Regions from separate parts of the Homo sapiens genome. Here all the other regions are linked to region 5. Evidence: promoter capture Hi-C in 16 types of primary human blood cells and fetal thymus (Javierre and others, 2016). All regions are on one chromosome and are shown on one strand. Each heading gives the region's core, a stretch centred on a gene start or on the middle of the fragment in contact. The rest is flanking DNA. Distances are from core to core; before and after follow the strand shown.

Region 1 (3,871 bases), core at 76-2,575, 260 kb after region 5:
AAAGCAGTGTTGTTCCTTTTCCCAGGGCTATTTTCTCGATCCTTACTGACTGGAGGCTACCTGATTACTAGAGGGAAGCAACCCAGTCCTTATAAATAGTTGTTATTCTTGATACTGCGGGGGTGGGAGGGGTGGGGATTTGGAGAGTCCCCAGCCATCCAGAAAACCTGATCTCCCAAACTGCATGGTCAGATGTACCCAGTGAAACTTCTCCAGGACTGGAAATTTTATTCTTTTTTTTTTCCATTTTTTTGATGGCAACTATAAACTTTCCCGGTTTCTCTTCCTTGCTGGTGTGCAGTGAGCTTGCAGTACGAGGAGAACTTAACTAGCTTAATTCTGCTCATCGATCTAGATCAGAGTTCCATTGCAGGATGGAAGGAGGAGCAAGTCAATAGAAGAGAGAGAGGAGGAATATCAAAGGGTCCGAGAGAGAATATTTGCCCGAGAGGTAAGTGTAGCATCTGAGAGTTGTCAGCCCATAGCTTTTAGCTCTTAATCATTGGAACTGTGAATGGAATGAACCCTCCACAAATGTTTTTGGGTTTGTTTGTTTGTTTTATTTTAACCAACATCAGCCAACCCTAGATTTGATCTCTAAAACTAAATGTGGCTTATTGGGAAGCTGCAGATTTTCACTTATATTGTTTTCAATACATTCTGCCATATGGTATTCAAAGAGAACTATAACTTGGAGTGGCTGAATTTGGTAAATTTGCCTAGACTGAAAATAGAAATGGTTTTGGCAGGGTCTGAATCTTGCCTCTAAAACCCTCCTTCTGCTTACCCTCTTTCACTCCCTCTATCCATTTTAGGCATCTTTGCTTCTAAGTGGAAGACATAGTGTTCACACAGGCTGTACATTCATCTTGTTTGACCAGCCTCATTTTTAGGATATGTTGGTGATTGTTAGAGCACAGGTCTGGCATCCATCCTCTATGAGCTCCACATTCTACATGCACAGAGAGTACCACTGTTCTCTCCAGTCTCTACCTGAAAAGGAAGTCTCTTTCTTCCTATATTTCTTACCTTGCTTCCTACAACAGGACTAGCTCCTAGGGCTAAAAGCCAACATGAATCAGTTTAGGCAATGTTACTCTTAAATGTGTGGACTATATCAAATATACTTGGTACCCCTGTATCTGGTTGCCTTTGCCTACCAGATTGAAGAGAAGAATAGCAGAAATTCAGGAAAGGTTGTGGGTGTACAAGAGGGAAACAAATCTCCAGAAAATGTAGTATCCAGATATGAGCACCATCTCACAATCACATGAGTAACAAAAGAGGGAAAGCCAGTCTCCCTTCATTGTCAAAAGATGGTCAGGGTTTTCTTTGTTTTTTATTTTGTTTTTTTTTGTTTTTTTTTTTTTAGATAGGGTTTCGCTTTGTCACCCAGGCTGCAGTGCAATGGCACAGTCACAGCTCACTGCAGCTTCAACTTCCTGGGCTCAAACGATCCTCTTGCCTCAGCCTCCCGAGTAGCTGGGATTACAGGCACGCATTACCACGCCTGGCTAACTTTTTTATTTTTTGTAGAGATGGGGTCTCACTATGTTGCCCAGACTGGTCTCAAACTCCTGTGCTCAAGTGATCCTTCCGCCACAGCCTCCTAAAGTGCTGGGATCATAGGCATGACCCACTGTGCCTGGCAAAAGATGGTCAGTTTTAATCAATATACTTAGATGAACACTACTTTCCTCCCATTCCCCCATTCTCCCCTTTCTCACCAAGGGGGGAGAATATATATATATATATTTTTTCATCATCATCATTAGTTTAGAAAAATACTGTCTCCAACTAAAAAACTGAACAACTGTATGTACTTGCGCCATTGTCTCAGAGATCCTCACTGGGAACTGATATACAGCAAACTTTCTGGCCCAAAGTCCAAGAAGGAATCTTCTTACCTCCTATTATGTAGACTTCCATTCTGAGTCAGAAAAGTCCATCTTCCAAATTATTCAACCATAGCCCAAAGAGGGTTTTCTACCTTTACCTACAAACCAGTTGGATGGAATGAGAGGAGAGATGTCATTTGTACATGGCTGTGGCCAGTGATAACCCCCTAAGTTGTGTACGGAACAGGTTGGTGGTTAATAGCAGCAAGTACTGGTTGGGCACTGTGGGTCACGACTGTAATCCCAGCACTCTGGGAGGCCGAGGCAGGTGGATCACCTGAGCTCGGGAGTTCGAGACCAACCTGACCATCATGGAGAAACCCCGTCTCTACTAAAAATACAAAATTAGCCAGGCATGGTGGCACATGCCTGTAATCCCAGCTACTCAGGGGGCTGAGGCAGGAAATCACTTGAACCCAGGAGGCAGAGGTTGTGGTGAGCCAAGATCGTGCCATTGCACTCCAGCCTGGGCAACAAGAGGAAAACTCCATCTCAAAAAATAAAAAAATAAAAAAAAGTAGCAAGCACTTATATAGCACTTACTATCTTTTAGGCATTGTTCTTAGTACTTGATATAGATGAACTCAGTCCTCATACTAGGCCTATGAAGTAGTTTATATTATTTTCCCCATTTTATAAAAGAGGAACTAAGGCTCATAAAGATTAAACAGCCACCTAAGTTCACACTGCTAGTTAGCAAAAGAGCTAAGTATTTGAATTCAGCCTGGCTCCAGAGTCTATGCTCTTAACCCCCTAATGTAAACCACCTCCCAATAGCTTGCTCTGCTCTGGGCTCTTTAGATTAAGAAGTACCAGTGACATCGTAACCTAGCTGACTATCTGTGATGTGTTCCTCTGCTTCACTTACACCTGGAAAATGACTGCCCCACTATGATAGCCATTAGCAAAGCTACAGATGTTCTGAAAGCACAGACAATTTATAATAGGGTATTAGAGCTAATTATGTACAACAGTGGACTGTATCTACCTACAACCATAACAAAGGCAAAGTTAGCTCTTCTCTTTTTTTTTCTCCTGATTTCTAGTCTTCAAGCCTCTACTAATGTATGTATTCTTTGTTAGATCCTTGTAGATTTATCACTTTGATTTCAGCACTTCTAACTCTTGTTGTGGTAGAGGCATCAGGAATCTCAGAAAGTCTAGACAAGGAACTATGGCCAAAGCCCATCATACTCCAAAGATTCCATGTGGAGAGGAGCCTGGCTAAAGGGAGCTGATTAGGGGTGGAGTTGTGGGGTTGGGTGTGGGAGCAGGAGGCAGGCCAAAAAGAAAGGAAGTGGCAAGAAGGGTGTTTGGATGGAAATGCTGCTGCTGCAGCCTTCTCTGGAGCCTGAGCTGTATATTGGAAAAGCTGCCCAGCATAGGCTCTGCTCTGCATGGAGCTCACTCTGCTCAGCAGCTGGACACTCTTGGTACCTTTTCCTAAAGCTTGGGAATCCACCACAATGCTCACTTCACTCAGCTCAGTGGCTTTGTCAGGAAATGATCCCCAAAGGGAATGTTTCAGGCTTTTAATTTTCTCATTTTTTCTAGGCCCTGAAAAGTAACTGCTTCCCCAATATCCCACCCTCCTTGGGTCTCAGGTCAGAATGTCTTTCATTTTGGCCAATGTAGGAGACAGAAATGGAAAAGCCATTGAGGATGATTTCCAAAAACAAAGTTTCTTTCTCTTGTCTCCCTTTTCCCTTCCTTTGAACACACTCTTTAGGACCAAGGACATCAGTTATTATTCCCAAGTTACCAATAAATTCAGAGCTAAAAAGGAAATAATAATTAGGTTAATACTTTCCTCTTCCTCCTTTTCACACTCCTGCCTTTGTCAGCCTCTTTTTTTTAAACACCTATCCAAAGGCTAAAACCACCAGATGTTCTTTCTCATTAAAGGTGAGAAGTCAGATTGGGTATGCGGGTATGGGTCATCCTGTCCCTGGCCCCTCTCTCCCTGTTGGTGG
Region 2 (3,742 bases), core at 1,086-3,585, 160 kb before region 5:
TCAAAAAGAAAGTCTCAGCAATCACCAAAAGAATCACTGACACAATGGCATAAAATTAGAAACCAATAGCAATCATATAAAAACAACAAAGCAAAACACATTTGTTTAGAAATATATTAAGCATAATTCTAAATAAGTTCAGAAGCACGTAGAAACCATAATGAAAATGGAAACACCACATACTAAAATTTGAGGGATGCAACCAAAATAGTACTCAGAGTGAAATGTAGAGCTTTAAGTGTATAATTAAGAGAGAAGACAGATTGAAAAGCATTTCGCTGAAGAAGTTATAAAAATATTTGCAACTCACATCACAGACAAAAGGACAATATCTCTACTATATAGAGTTCTTATAAATTGACAAGAAAAAGACCAGCAAGCCATTAGGAAAACGAGCAAAGAATTTGGACAGCTGAAAGAAAAGAGTAAAGAAGGGAGTAGAGAAAACCCTTAAATGAGGAAAATTAGACATTTTTTTCTTAAGAGAAATGCAAATTAAAACCACACTAAGAAATCATTCTTTCTCTGATGCCTACCTGATGATTGGCCAAAATCCAAAAGTTTAAAAATATACCAGGTTGGCACGGCTATAGGGAAATCAGCATTCCCATACGTTGTTGGAGGGAAAGTAATTTACCTAAGCAGAGTGATTTCGCAGCACGTAGCAAAATTACACAAACTTACTGCAGCACATAGCAAAACTACACAAACTTACTTCCAGGAACTCAATTTACATATCCTCTGTAAGTACAAGATTATTCAGTGCAGCACTTGTGTGTTAATAAAAGATTTAAAGCAAGCTAAATGTCCATCAACAGGGAACCATTTAGATAAAAAATGATACAACTATATAACAGAATAACAGAAACTATATGCAGGAATAAGGATGACTTTTTTTTTTTTTTTGAGACAGTGTCACTCTTTTGCTCAGGCTGGAGTGCAATGGTATGACAATAGCTCACTGCAACCTTGACCTCCTGGGCTGAAAAGATCCTCCCTTATCAGCCTCCTGAGCAGCTGGGACCACAGGCACACACTACCACACCTGGCTAAATATTTTTTTGTAGAGATGGGATCTCACTACGTTGGCTAGGCTGGTCTCAAACTACTGGCCTCAAGCGATCCTCCTGCCTCCACTTCCCAAAGTGCTAGGATTACAGGCATGAGCCACCACACCTGGCCCAAGTAAGGTTTTATATATATATTGATTTGGAAAGAGTGCAAAGATATATGCTTATATGTGCATTTAAAAAAATCTCAGAGTATATAAAGAAATTAACAATGGTTACCTTTCTTTAAGGATGGAAAGAGGCTAATGAGGGACAAGATGTGTTAATACTTTTCTCTGTATACCTTTTAAGCATTTCTATAGTTGAGTTATGTGAATGTGATTATGCCTATTCAGAAAATTTAATATAGAATTTTTTATTTAAAAAATTTGAGATGATGTCTTGCTCTGTCACCAAGCTGGAGTGCAGTGGTGTGTTCATAGCTCACTGTAGCCTTGACCTCCTGGGTTGAAGAGATCCTCCCAACTCAGCCTCCCAAGTAGCTGGGACCACAGGCACGTGCCACCACACCTGGCTAATTTTTTTTTTTTTTCCATAGAGACAGGGTCTCACTGTGTTGCCTAGGCTGGTCTCAAACTCCTAGCCTCAAGTGATCCTCCCACCTTGGCCTCCCAAAATGCTAGGATTATAGGGCATGAGCTACCATGCCTGGCCAGAATTTTTTAATGTTAAAAAAAATTCAAGTTGTTAGAAAAAAAAGAAATCAGAATAACACAAAGAAAGGAGAAGGAAGGAAATAACAAAGATAAAATAACGAACATGTGGCGGGACACGGTGGCTCACGCCTGTAATCCCAGCACTTTAGGAAGCCAAGGCAGGTGGATCACCTGAGGTCAGGAGTTCGAGACCAGCCTGACCAACATGAAGAAACCCCGTCTCTACTAAAAATAAAAAAATTAGCTGGGCATAGTGGAGCATAAAGCACCATCCCCTTGGTGCTTTCTCGTGACAGTGAGTGAGTTCTCAAGAGATCTGGTTGTGGCATGTCCCCCCTCTCTCTTTTGCTCCTGCTTCCACCATGTGAGACTCTGGCTCCCCACTTGCCTTTCACCATGATTGGAAGCTTCCTAAATCCTCCTCAGAAGTAGAGGCTGCTATGCTTCCTGTATGGCCAGCACAACTGTGAGACAATTAAACCTCTTTTCTTTATAAATTGCCCAGTCACAGGTATTTCTTTATAACAATGTGAGAATGGACTAATACAATGTTAGTGAAATACTAAATGAACAACAGAGAGGATAAACAAAACCAAAAGGTGGTTATTGGACTAATAAACTAGACAAGCCTCTGGCAACATAGATCAAGAAAAAAGAGAAAAGGCAAAGTCAATATTAGGAATGCAAAAGAGGATATATTTACAAAAAGAGATTATTAAAAAACAAAAAAATCTGTAATTTTATACTAATACATTTGAAAATTTAGACAAATGAATAATGGCCTATGAAATTATACTTTATTAAAGCTTCATGATGCAGCAAACCAAAAAAGTCTTATAATCTTTAAATAAATTAAATCAGTAGCAACAACGATCCCCCCAATATACCGGTTTTGTAGCATATTGTGGGGATGGGGAGGATTTATTTTATCTAAACTTTTTTTTTTTTTTTTTTTTTTTCAGAGAGTCATGCTCTGTCACCCAGGCTGGAGTCCAGTGGCGTGATAACAGCTCCTAACAGCCTCAACCTCTCCAACTAAAGCAATCCTCCTGCTTCAGCCTCCCAAGTAACTGGGACTACAGGTGTACACCACCACATCAGGCTAATTTAAAACTTTTTTTTTGAGAGACAGGAGTCTCACTATGTTGCTCAGGCTGGGCTCCTAGGCTCAAGAAATCTTCCTGCCTTGGCCTCCCAAAGTGTTGGGATTACAGGCATGAGCCACCACACCCGACCCTACCTAACCTTTGAAGAATAATCTCTATCTTAGCAAACTGCTCCACAGAGCAGAAAAAGAGGGAAGCTCCTCAAGATATTTTATGAAGTGAATGCAACTTTATACAAAAACAAGGTAAGTACAAGAAGAGAAAATTATAGACCAATTCACTTACGAAAATAGTTATAAAAGTTAATTATACTATCAGGATACTGAATATAGCAATGTACAAAAAAAAAACTTCATGACCATGGATTATCCCAGAAGTGAAAGAATAAAAAAAAACTAGAAAATAAATTAACATTTTTAATATTAAAAAAACCATATGACTATCTCAATAGACACAGAATAAGCATGTGTTAAACTTCCACACCTATACATGGTGAAAATATCCAGCAGTCTAGGTACAGAATGGAACTTCACATACCTGATAAAAGGTATCTGCAAAAAGCCTGCAGGAAAACATCACGCTAACAGTGAAACTTCAGGAGCATCCCCTTTAAAGTCAGAAACAAGTCAAGGATGCCCATCATTGCCACTTCTGTTGCACTCGAGGTATAAGAAAAATGAAATGTATACAACTTAGAAAGGAAGAAACCAAAACTGTTTCTCTTGCAGATGACATAATTATCTATACAGAAAATCCACAAGAATTTGTGAACTACTAAAAATGAAAGAGTTCAAAAAAGAGTTGCTGAGTGTAAGATCAATATGTAAAACCAATAATGTGACCATGTACCAGCAACAATCAGAAAACGGAATTTTTGGCCAGGCACAGTGGCTCATTGCCTGTAATCCCA
Region 3 (3,740 bases), core at 214-2,713, 230 kb after region 5:
CAAGTAACAAAGCCAGATTTTCTGGATTTGAGTCCTGGCTCTGCCATATGCCAGTTGTGTGCCCTTTTAAGCAAAGTGTTTAACTTCTCTGTGCCTCAGTTTACTTGTCTGTAAAATGGTGATAATAGTAAGAATAAATATGTAATAGGATCATTGTAAGATTAAATGAGATACATAAAATATTTTAGGATAGTGCCTGGCACAATGTAAGCACTCAAAAGTTTTAGCTGATTATTATTATTATTGCCTGTCTCCCTGTCAGTTATTTCTTTCTTTCTTTTTTCTTTTCTTTCTTTTTTTTTTTGAGATGGAGTCTCGCTTGTTTGCCCAGGCTGGAGTGCGGTGGCACGATCTCAGCTCACCACAACCTCCGCCTCCCAGGTTCAAGCGATTCTTCTGCCTCAGGCTCCTGAGAAGCTGTGACTAAGGCACACACCACCATGCCTGGCTAATTTCTGTACTATTAGTAGAGATGGGGTTTCACTATGTTGACCAGGCTGGTCTCGAACTCCTGACCTTGTGATCTGCCCACCTCGGCCCCCCAAAGTGCTAGGATTACAGGAGTGAGCCACTGCACCACCCAGCCTGTCAGTTATTTCTACTTAAAGAGCTGGACTTCTCTGCCTGGTCCAGGTAGTTCCTCTCTTTTTTCTTTTCTTTGAGACAGAGTCTTGCCTTTTTGCCCAGGTTGGAGTGCAGTAGTATGATCTCGGTTGCCCGCAACCTCCTCTTCCTGGGTTCAAGCTATTCTCCTGCCTCAGCCCCCCAAGTAGCTGGAATTACAGGCAGACACCCCACCATGCCCGGCTAATTTTTGTATTTTTAGTAGAGATGGGGTTTGACCATATTGGCCAGGCTGGTCTCGAACCCCTGACCTCAAGTAATCCACCCGCTTCAGCCTCTCAAAGTGCTGGAATTACAGGCATGAGCCACCTCGCCCAGCCATTCCTTTTTTTTTTTTTTGGGGGGGCGGGGACGGAGTCTCGCTCTGTTGCCCAGGCTGGAGTGCAATGGTGCAGTCTTGGCTCACTGCAACCTCTGCCTCCCAGGTTCAAGTGATTTTCCTGCCTCAGCCTCCTGAGTAGCTGGGATTACAGGCACCCCCCACCACACCCGGCTAGTAATTTTTTTGTATTTTTAGTAGAGACGGGGTTTCACTATGCTGGCCAGGCTGGACTCGAACTCCTGACCTCATGATTCGCCTGTCTCGGCCTTTACAGGCGCGAGCCACCCGGCCTGGCCCGTTCCTCTGTTAATATACCCTTTTTTTTTTTTTTTTTTTTAACTATCTTCTTAATATACCCTTTTTTTTTTTTTTAACTATCTCCCAGGATTCTGACATAATAAACTCAACTCAGAGTATCTTAAATGGTAAGAGGATTTATAACTTCACATATCAGGAAGTCCAGAGATAGGGAGGGTCGAGATTGACTATTGTCTAATCACAGCATCAAGGATGCAGGCTCCAGCCAGTCATGGTGGCTCACATCTGTAATCCTAGCACTTTGTGAGGCCAAGGCGGGTGGATTGCTTAAGCCCAGGAGTTCAAGACCAGCTTGGGTGACATGGCAAAACCCCATCTCTATTACAAATACAAAAATTAGCCATTCGTGGTGATGGGCGCCTGTAATCCCAGCTACTCAGGAGGCTGAGCCCCAGAGGTTGAGGCTGCAGTGAGCTGTGATCATGCCACTACACTCCAGCCTAGGTGACAGACTGAGACCCTGTCTCAAAAAAAAAACAAAAAAACAAACAAAAAAAAACACAAAAAGCCTGGGCAAGGTGGTCACACCTTTATTCCAATCGCTTTGAGAGGCTGAGGTGGGCAGATCACCTGAGGTCAAGAGATTGAGACCAGGCTGGCCAACATGGCAAAACCCCATCTCTACAAAAATACAAAAATTAGGCCAGGTGCGATGTCTCACGCCTGTAATCCCTGCACTTTGGGAGGCCAAGGTGGGTGGATTACCTGAGGTCAGGAGTTCAAGAGCAGCCTGGCCAACATGGAGAAACCCCATCTCTACCAAAAATACAGAAATTAGCTGAACGTGGTGGCACGTGCCTGTAATCCCGGCTACTCAGGAGGCTGAGGTAGAATCGCTTGAACCCAGGAGGCAGAGGTTGCAGTGAGTCAAGATCACACCACTGCACTCCAGCCTGGGTGACAGAGTGAGACTCCATGTAAAAAAAAAAAAAAAAATAGCTGGGCGTGGTGGTGCATGCCTGTAATCCCAGCTACTAGGGAGGCTGAGGCAGGAGAATCACTTGAACCTGGGAGGTGGAGGTTGCAGTAAGCCAAGATCTCACCACCGTACTCTAACCTGGGTGATATAGTGAGACTCCATCTCAAAAAAAAAAAAAAAAAAAAAGGATGGATGCAGGCTTATTTTCTCTGCTTCCCCATCCTCCATGTGTTGGCAGGGTGCTGCCACAGTCTAGGTATCATCTGCATCCAAGATCACCTTTGGTAGAAGATACCTGTTTCTTCCAGAGGCTTAAAAAAATTTTAAATAAAATAGGAAACCTTTTCCATTCAACAAAGTCCCTTTGTGTCTCACTTGTCCCTTCTAAAACCAGTCACAAAAAGGAAACAGAATTACCACAATTGGTTTAACTAATTTATATCCATCTCCCAGGGATTGGGGATAAGGTCTCCTTCCCTGATCATGTATTCTCAGGGGAAGGCAAGCGCCAAAAGAAATCTGGGTTAGATCAATGAATGTGGAAGAACAGGGAAGTCTGGGGAGGTGCCCTTTCCTCTGCTGCTTCATTTTTCTCAGTGTAAGAATTATTTTGTTTTATACAGCTCTTCAAGAGGCTGGTGGTCTCAGTAGAATGACTGACTAAATTTTTTTTGAGACAGGTTTCACTCTGTTGCGCAGGCTGGAGTACAGTGGAGTGATCTCAGCTCACTGCAACCTCTGCCTCCCAGGCTCAACTAAGTAGCTAGGACCACAGGCGTGTGCCACCACGCCCGGCTAATTTTTGTATTTTTGGTAGAGATGGGGTTTGCCATGTTGCCCAGGCTGGTCTTGTACTCCTAAGCTTGAGCAATTCACCTGCCTTGGCCTCCCAAAGTGCTCTGACTGTAGGCGTGAGCCAACACGCCCAGCCAACTGATTAAATTCTTAAAAGTGGGTAGTTAAATGAGTCTGTTTTATGGGTATCTGTGAGAAGCTAAAGTTCAAGTCTTCCTGTTTCTCCAATGAATGAAGGAAGCCATGTGTCTCCGTAAAACTTGAGGTTGAATATGTGACCATATTCTACAGATGAAAGATCATTTTTTATTTGTTTGTGTTCAGTGTTTTGGCTGAGAAACAGTGGTTGGACACTGATATTATTCCAGGTATCCAGATAGTTGGTCTTTTCCTGACCCACATGTGAAGGAGAGCTGCAAAGTTGTCATTTTGATTTGACGAAATATACCCATTTGGTAATTAAGGCCCATCCTTGAAAAAGAAACAAACCACTGCTGTGCCTTGAACGGTGGCTGAGGCCTGTAATCCTAGCACTTTGGAAGGCCAAGGCAGGTGGATCACTTGAGCTCAGGAGTTTGAGACCAGCCTGGGCAACATGGCAAAACCCTATCTCTAAAAGTAATAGAAAAATTAGGCTGGGTGCAGTGGCTCACACCTATAATCCCAGCACTTTGGGAGGCCGAAGTGGTGGGTGGATCACCTGAGGTCAGGAGTTGGAGACCAGCCTGGCCAACATGGTGAAACCCCGTCTCTGCTAAAAAT
Region 4 (4,324 bases), core at 319-2,818, 140 kb before region 5:
CCTGGGAGGCCGAGCTTGCAGTGAGCCGAGATCGCGCCACTGCACTCCAGCCTGGGTGACAGAGCGAGACTCTGTCTCAAAAAAAAAAAAAAAAAAAAAAAAAAAAAAAAGACTTAAATCTATGACCTGAAACTATTAAACTACTACAAGAAAACATTGAGGAGCCTCTCCAGGACATTGGCCTGGGCAAAATTTCTTGAGATACCCCACAAGCACAGGTAACCAAAGCAAAAATGGACAAACAGGATCACATCAAGTTAAAAAGCTTCTGCACAGCAAAGAAAACAACAAAGTGAAGAGACAAGCCACAGAATGGGAGAAAATATTTGCAAACTACTTGTCTGACAAGGGAGTAATAACCAGAATATATAAGGAGCACAAACAAAAGAAAAAAAAATCTAATAATCTGATTTAAAAATGGGCAAAAGATCTGAATAGACATTTCTCAAAAGAAGACATACAAATGGCAAACAAGTGTATGAAAAGGTACTCAACATAATTGATCATCAGAGAAATGCAAATCAAAACTACAATGAGATATCATCTTACCCCAGTTTAAATGGCTTTTATCCAAAAGACAGGCAATAACAAATGTTGGAGAGGATGTGGAGAAAATGGAACCCTCGTACACTGTTGGTGTGAATGTAAATTAGTACAACCACTATGGAGAACAGTTTGGAATTTCTTCAAAAAACTAAAAATAGAGCTACCATACAATCCAGCAATCCCACTGATGGGTATATACCCAAAAGAAAGGAAATCAGTATATCGAAATGATATCTGTACTCCCATTTTTGTTGCAGCACCATTCACAATAGCTAAAATTTGGAAGCAAACTAAGTGTCCATCAACAGATGGATTTAAAAAAATGTAGTACGTATACACATAGGAGTACTTACTATTCAGCCATGAAAAAGAATGAGATCCTGTAACTCGCAACAACGTGGATGAAACTGGAGGTCATTATGTCATATGAAATAAGCCAGGCACAGAAAGACAAACTTAGCATGTTCTCACTTATTTGTGAGAGCTAAAAACCAAAGCAGTTGAACTCACGGAGATAGAGAGTAGAAGGATGGTTACCAAAGGCTGGGAAGAGTAGTGTGGGGTTGAGGAGAAGTGGGGATGGCTAATGGGTATAAAACATAGAAATAATGAAAAAGACCTAGTATGTGATAGCATAACAGGGTGACTATAGTCAATAATAATTTAATTGTACATTTTAAAATAACTAAAAGGGTATAATCGGATTGTTTGTAACACAAAGGATAAATTCTTGAGGGGATGGATACTCCATTTTTCATGATGTGATTATTACTTATTGCATGTCTGTATCAGAGTATCTCATGTACCCCATAAATATATACATATATACACCACTGTGTGCCCACACAAAAATAAAATTTTTAATTGTATTTAATTGATTCCTTATCAGAACAGCATTGGGCTTACAAACTCATCAACATTGGGAGGAATGAGTGTGGTGGCTCACTCCTCTAATCCCAGCACTTTGGGAGGCCAAGATGGGAGGATCACTTGAGCCCAAGAGTTTGAGACCAGCCAGGGCAACATAGGGAGACTGCATCTTTACAAAAAAAAATTTAAAAAAAATAGTAGGGCATGGTAGCGAGTGCCTGTGATCCCAGCTTCTTGGGAGGCTGAGGTGGGAGTATTGCTTGAGCCCAGGAGGTCAAGGCTGCAGTCAGCCATGATCACGCCACTGCACACCAGCCTGGGTGACAGAGTGAGACCCTGTCTCTTAAAAAAGAAAAAATACATTGGGAGCTAGAAAATAATATAAAATATCTTCAAATTTTTTAGGGAAATTATTTCCAACCTATAATTCTATGTTCCACCAAACTATAATGTTTTTTGATTCAACATTATTTTTGTATAAATTTGTGGAATGCAAGTGCAATTTTGTTAGATGCATAGATTGTGCAGTGGTGAAGTCAGGGCTTTTAGGGTATCCATTACCCAAACAATATGCATTGTACCCATTAAGTAATTTCTCATCATCCAGCCCCCTCAAACTCCATCATCCTTCTGAGTCTCCATTGTCTATTATTCCACACTCTATGTCCATGTGTACACATTGTTTAGCTCCCACTTATAAGTGAGAACATGCAACATTTGTCTTTCTGTTTCTGACTTGTTTCACTTAAGATAATGGTCTCCCATTCCATCCATGTTTATGCAAAAGACAGATTTCATTCTTTTTTATGGCTGAATAGTATTTCATTGTATATATAGACCACATTTTCTTTAACCAGTCGTCCATTGATATACACTTAGGTTGATTCCATATCTTTGCTATTGTGAATAGTATTGCAGTAAACGTACAAATGCCAGTATCTTTTTGATGTAGTAATTTCTTTTCCTTGGGTAGATACCCAGTAATGGGATTGTGGAATCAAGTGGTAGTTTTATTTTTTAGTTCTTTGAGAAATCTCCATACTGTTTTCCATAGAAGTTGTACTAATTTACATTCCCACCAACAGTGTTTAAGTGTTCTCTTTTCTTCATGTCCTCACCAACATCTGTTATTTTTTGACTTTTCAGTAATAGCCATTCTGACTGTTGTAAGACGGTGTCTCATTGTGGTTTTAATTTGCATTTCTCTGATGATTAGTGATGTTGAGCATTTTTTCATATGTTTCTTGGCCATTTGTATGTATTTTTGGAAAAAAATGTCTATTCATATCCTTTGCTCACTTTTAATGGGGTTATCTGAGATTTTTGTCGAATTTTAGTTCCTTTTATATTCTGATATTAGACCCTTGTTGGATGTGTATTTTGCAAATAGTTTCTCCCATTCTGCACGTTGTCTGTTCATTCTGTTGACTATTTCTTTTACTAGTCAGAAGCTTTGTAGTTTAATTAAGTCCCACTTGCCTATTTTTGTTTTTTGTTGCCTGTGCTTTTGAGGTCTTAGTTATGAATTATTTTGCTAAGCCAATGTCCAGAAGAGTTTTCCCTAGGTTTTTGGCTGGTATTTTTATAGTTTCACATCTTACATTTAAGTCTTTAGTCCACCTTGAGTTGATTTTCGCATGTAGTAAAAGATAGGGGTCCAGTTTCGTTCTTCTGCACATGGCAATCCAATTTCCCCAGCACTGTTTATACCATTTGTTGAAAAGGATATTCTTTCCCTTGTGTGTGTGCCTGTGTGTATTTATTGATTTTTTGAGACAGGGTCTCGCATTGTCGCCCAGGCTAGAGTGCAGTGGCACAATCATGGCTCACTGCAGCTTTGACTTCCTGGGCTCAAGCTATTCCCCCACCTCAGTCTCCCGAGTAGCTGGGACTACAGGCACATGCCACCACTCCCAGATAATTTTTTAAATTAATTTTTTGTAGAGATGGAGCCTCACTATATTGCCCAGGTTGGCCCAGTGTGTGTTCTTGTCGACTGTGTCAAAGATCAGGCCAGGTATGGTGGCTCATCCCTATAATTCCAACACTTTGGGAGGCTAAGGCAGAAGGATCACTTGAGGCCAGGAGTTTGAGACCCGCCTGGGCAACATAGTGAGACCCTGACTCTACAAAAAATAAAATTAAAAAAATTAGCTGTGTATGGTGGTGTGTGCCTGTAGTCCTGAGCTACTCTAAAGGTGAAGCAGGAGGATTGCTTAAGCCCAAGAGGTCCAGGCTGCGGTGAGTCATGATCACACCACTGCACTGCAGCCTGAGCAACAGAGTGAGACCCTGACTCAATAAAAAAAAAATTTTGACTCTAAATATGTGCATCTACTTCTGGGTTCTCTACTCTGTTCCATTGATCTATGTGTCTATTTTTAAATGAATATCATGCTGTTTTGTTTACTATAGCCTTGTAGTATAATTTCAAGTCAGATAATGTGATGCCTCCAGCTTTGTTTATTTTGCTTAGGAAAGTTCTGGCTATTTGGGCTGTTTTTTTTTCCATATGAATTTTTTAGGATTTTTTTTTCTAATTCTGTGAAAAGTAACCTTGATATTTTGATAGGGATTGCACTGAATCTGTAGATTGCTTTAGATAGTATGGTCATTTTAACAATATTAACTCTTCCAATCAGTGAGCATGGGATGTTTGTGTCACCTACAATTTCTTTCATCAATGTTTTGTAGTTTTTCTTATAGAATCCTTTTACTTCCTTGGTTAATATATTCCTAGATATTTTATTTTTTGGTAGCTATTGTAAATGAGATTGCCTTCTTGATTTCATTTGCAGCTAGAACATTATTAGTGAATACAAACACTCTTGATTTTTGTACATTTATTTTGTATCCTGAAACTTTACTGAATTAATTGATCAAATCTAAGAGTTTTTTTGGTGCAGTT
Region 5 (3,704 bases), core at 670-3,169:
AAGCCCAGAGATTCCTTGTCCTTCCTTCCTTTGGGTCAGACTCCTGCTGCAGCCCCTGGAAAGAACCACCAAGAAGCTGGCCAAATTGATTTTTCTCCATGTCACAGGCCTCTGCTGGCCAACAGAGAGTTGGACTGCAGGAGTTGAGGTTCTAGGCAAAGAGGAAGGGCAGGGTGGATGGGAGAAGGAGGAGGAAAGGAAAGTTCTGCTCAGCAACTGTCTGGTGAGTGGTTAAGGTCACTTAAGACACTATGGGACAAAAGTAAGAGGCTGATAGCCTGGCCAGACAAGACCTAACTATTCAGAACTCAGGGGGTTTCCCACATTGGGGCTACACCTCTAACCTACCTTGAATCTTAAGGGAACTGAAAGAAAAGAGTCCAACATAAGGAATGGGACAGGAAAGCTGTAGGACTATGGAGAAAGGGATAGAGGCTTGGGGAGGAGCCAGGAGAAAGAAAGACAACGAGTTCCGAACTCAGGAACTCTCTAGTCACTTGGTTTGGCACAATTTCTAAGTGTTGCAGCATCCTGCAAGCTCAGGAAACATCCTGGGAAACATCCCATCCTTGGGTCCCCAGGGGCTCCAAGGTGGCATCTTTAGTAAAGGGGTTTCAAAATGCCAGTCCATGGAGGGTCACTGGTCAGAGACAAAAGTTCACTGAGTATGCCCTCACCTCCAAAAGAACAATGGTGAGTTTTTTTTTAATATAAAGATGGATTTGATAAGTTTCAAAGGACTATCTTTTATTCTGAGTGTGTCCTTCTTGCTTTTCTACCAAGTAATGATGGTGACAGTAAATAATAGGTTTTCTATTTGTAATATACTTACTTGATAAAATAAAAAGGCAAATCTTCAAGGTTTGTAGTTGTTTTAATTTTATTGAACGATGAAATTTAAAAGTCTGAGAACGGAAGGTAAGGTTGGTGAATAGGTACAAAAAATTAGAAAGTATAATAAGACCTACTATTTGATGGCACAATAGGGTGACTATAGTCAAGAATAACTCAACTGTACATTTTAAAATAACTTAAAGAGTAATTGGATTATTTGTAACTTAAAGGATAAATGCTTGAGAGGATGGATACCCTCTTCTCCATGATGTGCTTATTTCACATTGCATGCCTGTATCAAAATATCTCATGTGTCCCATAAATACATACACCTACTGTGTACCCACAAAATTGAAAAAATTGAAAAATAAATAAAAGTCTGAGAACTATTAACGAAGTAGTTAAGAGCCCAGAGAGTGTTCAGACAGACATGGAGACACCACTTACCTACTTATGAACTTCAGATAGAATTGCCAGATTTGAAAAACAAAAAACAAAAACAGGATGCCCAGTTAAATGTGAATTTCAGATACTTAATTTTTGGGGGGTTAGTATACCCACACACCACACACCACACACACACACCTACTTATTATCTGAAATTCAAATTATCTGAAAGCCCTTACTTGAGAAGATTGCCTAACTTTTTCATTCCTAACATACACTACGCGTTTACTAAATTTTACTTCTTGTTTTTATTTTGTTTTTATAATACACAGTATCAAGCAAACTTCTTGTTTTTGAAACCCCGGCTGTGTCACAGTATGACTACCTGTATCATTTAATCTAGTCATTTTATTCCTGGGAGCCCCAAACAGGAATTATAAATGTTCTTTCACTGACTTGCTGTAAAAGTGAGAGAAAAGGCTGTATGAAATAGCTCCCCAAGGTTCGTTATTGTCGCTCCCCGCCCAAGCTCCAGTACACCAAAACTACACATCCCACAATCCTAGGCGGCGTCCCCTGGCCATTACCTCATTCCCTGGCCTCGTTCTCCCCAATCCCGGCCTCTCCAGGGGTGTGGCAGCAGGGCTGTTCTCGCGACTTTTGCTTTACCCTTCTGCTGTGCTACTGCTGTCGCGAGACTTCCTGCTCATCTGCCGCTCCCTTTGCCGCCGCCTTAGCCCGGGACCCGAACCCAGCCTCTCCCCTACCCGAACACCGGCCCCGGCTCCACCGAGGCCCGGGTCCCCCAGCCCGTCTCGCCGCCGCCATGGCGGACCCTAAATACGCCGACCTTCCCGGCATTGTGAGTACAGGACCGGCCCCGGCTCCCCAGGACCGCGCCCCCGACCTCCCAAGGACCCCCAGCAGAAACCAGCCCGCGACCCCTCCCGCCTGCAGCCCATCCTCCGCCCAAGGGCTCCCGCCGCTCGTTCTCCGATCGGCCTCAGCACCCCCCGAACTCTTCTGACCCGACTGGGCCGGGCCGCCGGACGGCGCACCAGGCCCCCTTTCCGGCAGTCGCCGGTAGCTCGGCCCAGAAATCGACTCCGGGTACTGACCTCTTGTGCCTGAGTTTTTCCACCATCCGTGTCAACGCCTCCCATGTCCCCCCCAAATCTCTCCATAAGACCCCATCGCTACCCCAGACACACACACCAGACCACTTAACGATGGCCTTCATCCTGCCAAGGAAGAGGTTCTGCCATCTGGCAGAACCCTCTTGTGCCAGATGGGGAGCTCTATCCTTGAGGGAACCTATGCCCTCCCCCAGCCCCCACTCCCATGACAATCCTGGCGTGTACCTTCCTTTTGTGCTGCCCTGCCTGCTTCTCAAGGTGAGGGTTGGGACACAGGACCTTGAGTACTAAGGTCCTGAGTCACTCTCAATCCTTGTGCCAGGGTGGTGGTGTACGGGGCCTAATTGGAGGATAGCCTTCACCTTCTTTGGCAATAGTGATTGCCAAGGACCTGCCCGCCTCTAGATTTAGGGTAACATCGTTGCTATCACTTACACTCACCGTTTACTGTCAGGTCCCAATTGTTTCCGCTGTCATCCCTACCCCTTGAGACATGGGAACTGACATACTGTTGACTCACGGGGCAGGTGGAGGAGAAAGGACAGAACCCTGACATCACACCCCGCCTTCTCTGTTAGCTTATTCAAATGGAGTGGGGGAAGGGGTGTTGTTGGATGCTGGGTAGTGAGGTTGGGTGGTCACTGCTTCTACCTGCAGGCCAGGAATGAGCCAGATGTTTATGAAACTAGCGACCTACCTGAGGATGATCAAGCGGAGTTCGATGCGGTAAGAATGTGTGCTGCCACAGACTCCTCCGGACTCTGACCTTTCTCCCCTAGACAGGTCCTTCCCTTTCTCGGGGGAGCTACAGCAATAAGCGGGTATGCCAACCCCAGCCTGGGTGGTATATAGGTTGCAGGGCTTGCAAAGACCTTGCTGGGCTTGCAGCCACCAATGAGCAATGGCAGGAGGGAGAGTCAAGTCAGCGGAATTACAGCTAACAACATCTGTTTGCAAAGCCCTGATTCTTGGGCCTTTTAAATAAAATTGAAATATCTCAAAACAGGTTTGGAGCTAGTGACTTAGGCCCCTGGGTTCTAACCCATGGAAATGAATCATGAAGCCTGGGCACTTGTAATAAACTGCTACCAAGAACTAGACTTTGAAATATGGAGAAATACTTTTTCCATATGAATATCCAGTATCCATTGGGCAAGGAATTAAGAAAGTGATTCCAAGATTTTAGAGCAAAACAAATTTGAGGAAGAATGTAAATATTTCACATCAGCGGATGTGAGACTGTGGTTGCATTTTTAGATCCGAGAATTCTGAGGATGGAGTAATTAGGTACGGATACATTTTAACTGTGAGGGGAAACATTTAGTATGGTTTATTGAGTGTGTTCAT

What was found. The method cuts DNA at HindIII sites, captures the fragments that hold promoters and counts their contacts. A CHiCAGO score of 5 or more calls a contact.
Region 1: a contact is called between a fragment that was not itself captured here and the fragment with the promoter of DCTN2 in region 5, in 1 of 17 cell types (neutrophils). The highest score is 6.8, in neutrophils.
Region 2: a contact is called between a fragment that was not itself captured here and the fragment with the promoter of DCTN2 in region 5, in 8 of 17 cell types (M2 macrophages, M1 macrophages, erythroblasts and 5 more). The highest score is 11.6, in M2 macrophages.
Region 3: a contact is called between a fragment that was not itself captured here and the fragment with the promoter of DCTN2 in region 5, in 1 of 17 cell types (neutrophils). The highest score is 5.1, in neutrophils.
Region 4: a contact is called between a fragment that was not itself captured here and the fragment with the promoter of DCTN2 in region 5, in 1 of 17 cell types (M2 macrophages). The highest score is 6.6, in M2 macrophages.

Annotation. Positions count from the first base shown.
Region 1 is chr12:57,289,152-57,293,022 of GRCh38, reverse strand. It overlaps R3HDM2 (R3H domain containing 2), which reads left to right. Exons shown (of 24, transcript NM_001394031.1): 11 at 356-451. Among named protein-coding and RNA genes, the nearest start is that of STAC3, 40 kb to the right of the region's middle. The HindIII fragment of the contact is 4,048 bases long and covers 1-3,349 here.
Region 2 is chr12:57,705,790-57,709,531 of GRCh38, reverse strand. All of the region lies in intron 5 of OS9 (OS9 endoplasmic reticulum lectin), which reads right to left. Among named protein-coding and RNA genes, the nearest start is that of OS9, 14 kb to the right of the region's middle. The HindIII fragment of the contact is 399 bases long and covers 2,136-2,534 here.
Region 3 is chr12:57,315,212-57,318,951 of GRCh38, reverse strand. All of the region lies in intron 2 of R3HDM2 (R3H domain containing 2), which reads left to right. Among named protein-coding and RNA genes, the nearest start is that of STAC3, 66 kb to the right of the region's middle. The HindIII fragment of the contact is 3,169 bases long and covers 1-3,047 here.
Region 4 is chr12:57,687,027-57,691,350 of GRCh38, reverse strand. No RefSeq gene overlaps it. Among named protein-coding and RNA genes, the nearest start is that of OS9, 4.9 kb to the left of the region's middle. The HindIII fragment of the contact is 2,602 bases long and covers 268-2,869 here.
Region 5 is chr12:57,545,407-57,549,110 of GRCh38, reverse strand. DCTN2 (dynactin subunit 2) reads left to right here and starts at 1,919. Exons shown (of 14, transcript NM_001261413.2): 1 at 1,919-2,083; 2 at 3,015-3,083. The coding sequence starts at 2,048. RefSeq lists an enhancer at 1,651-1,790. The HindIII fragment of the contact is 9,827 bases long and covers 1-3,704 here.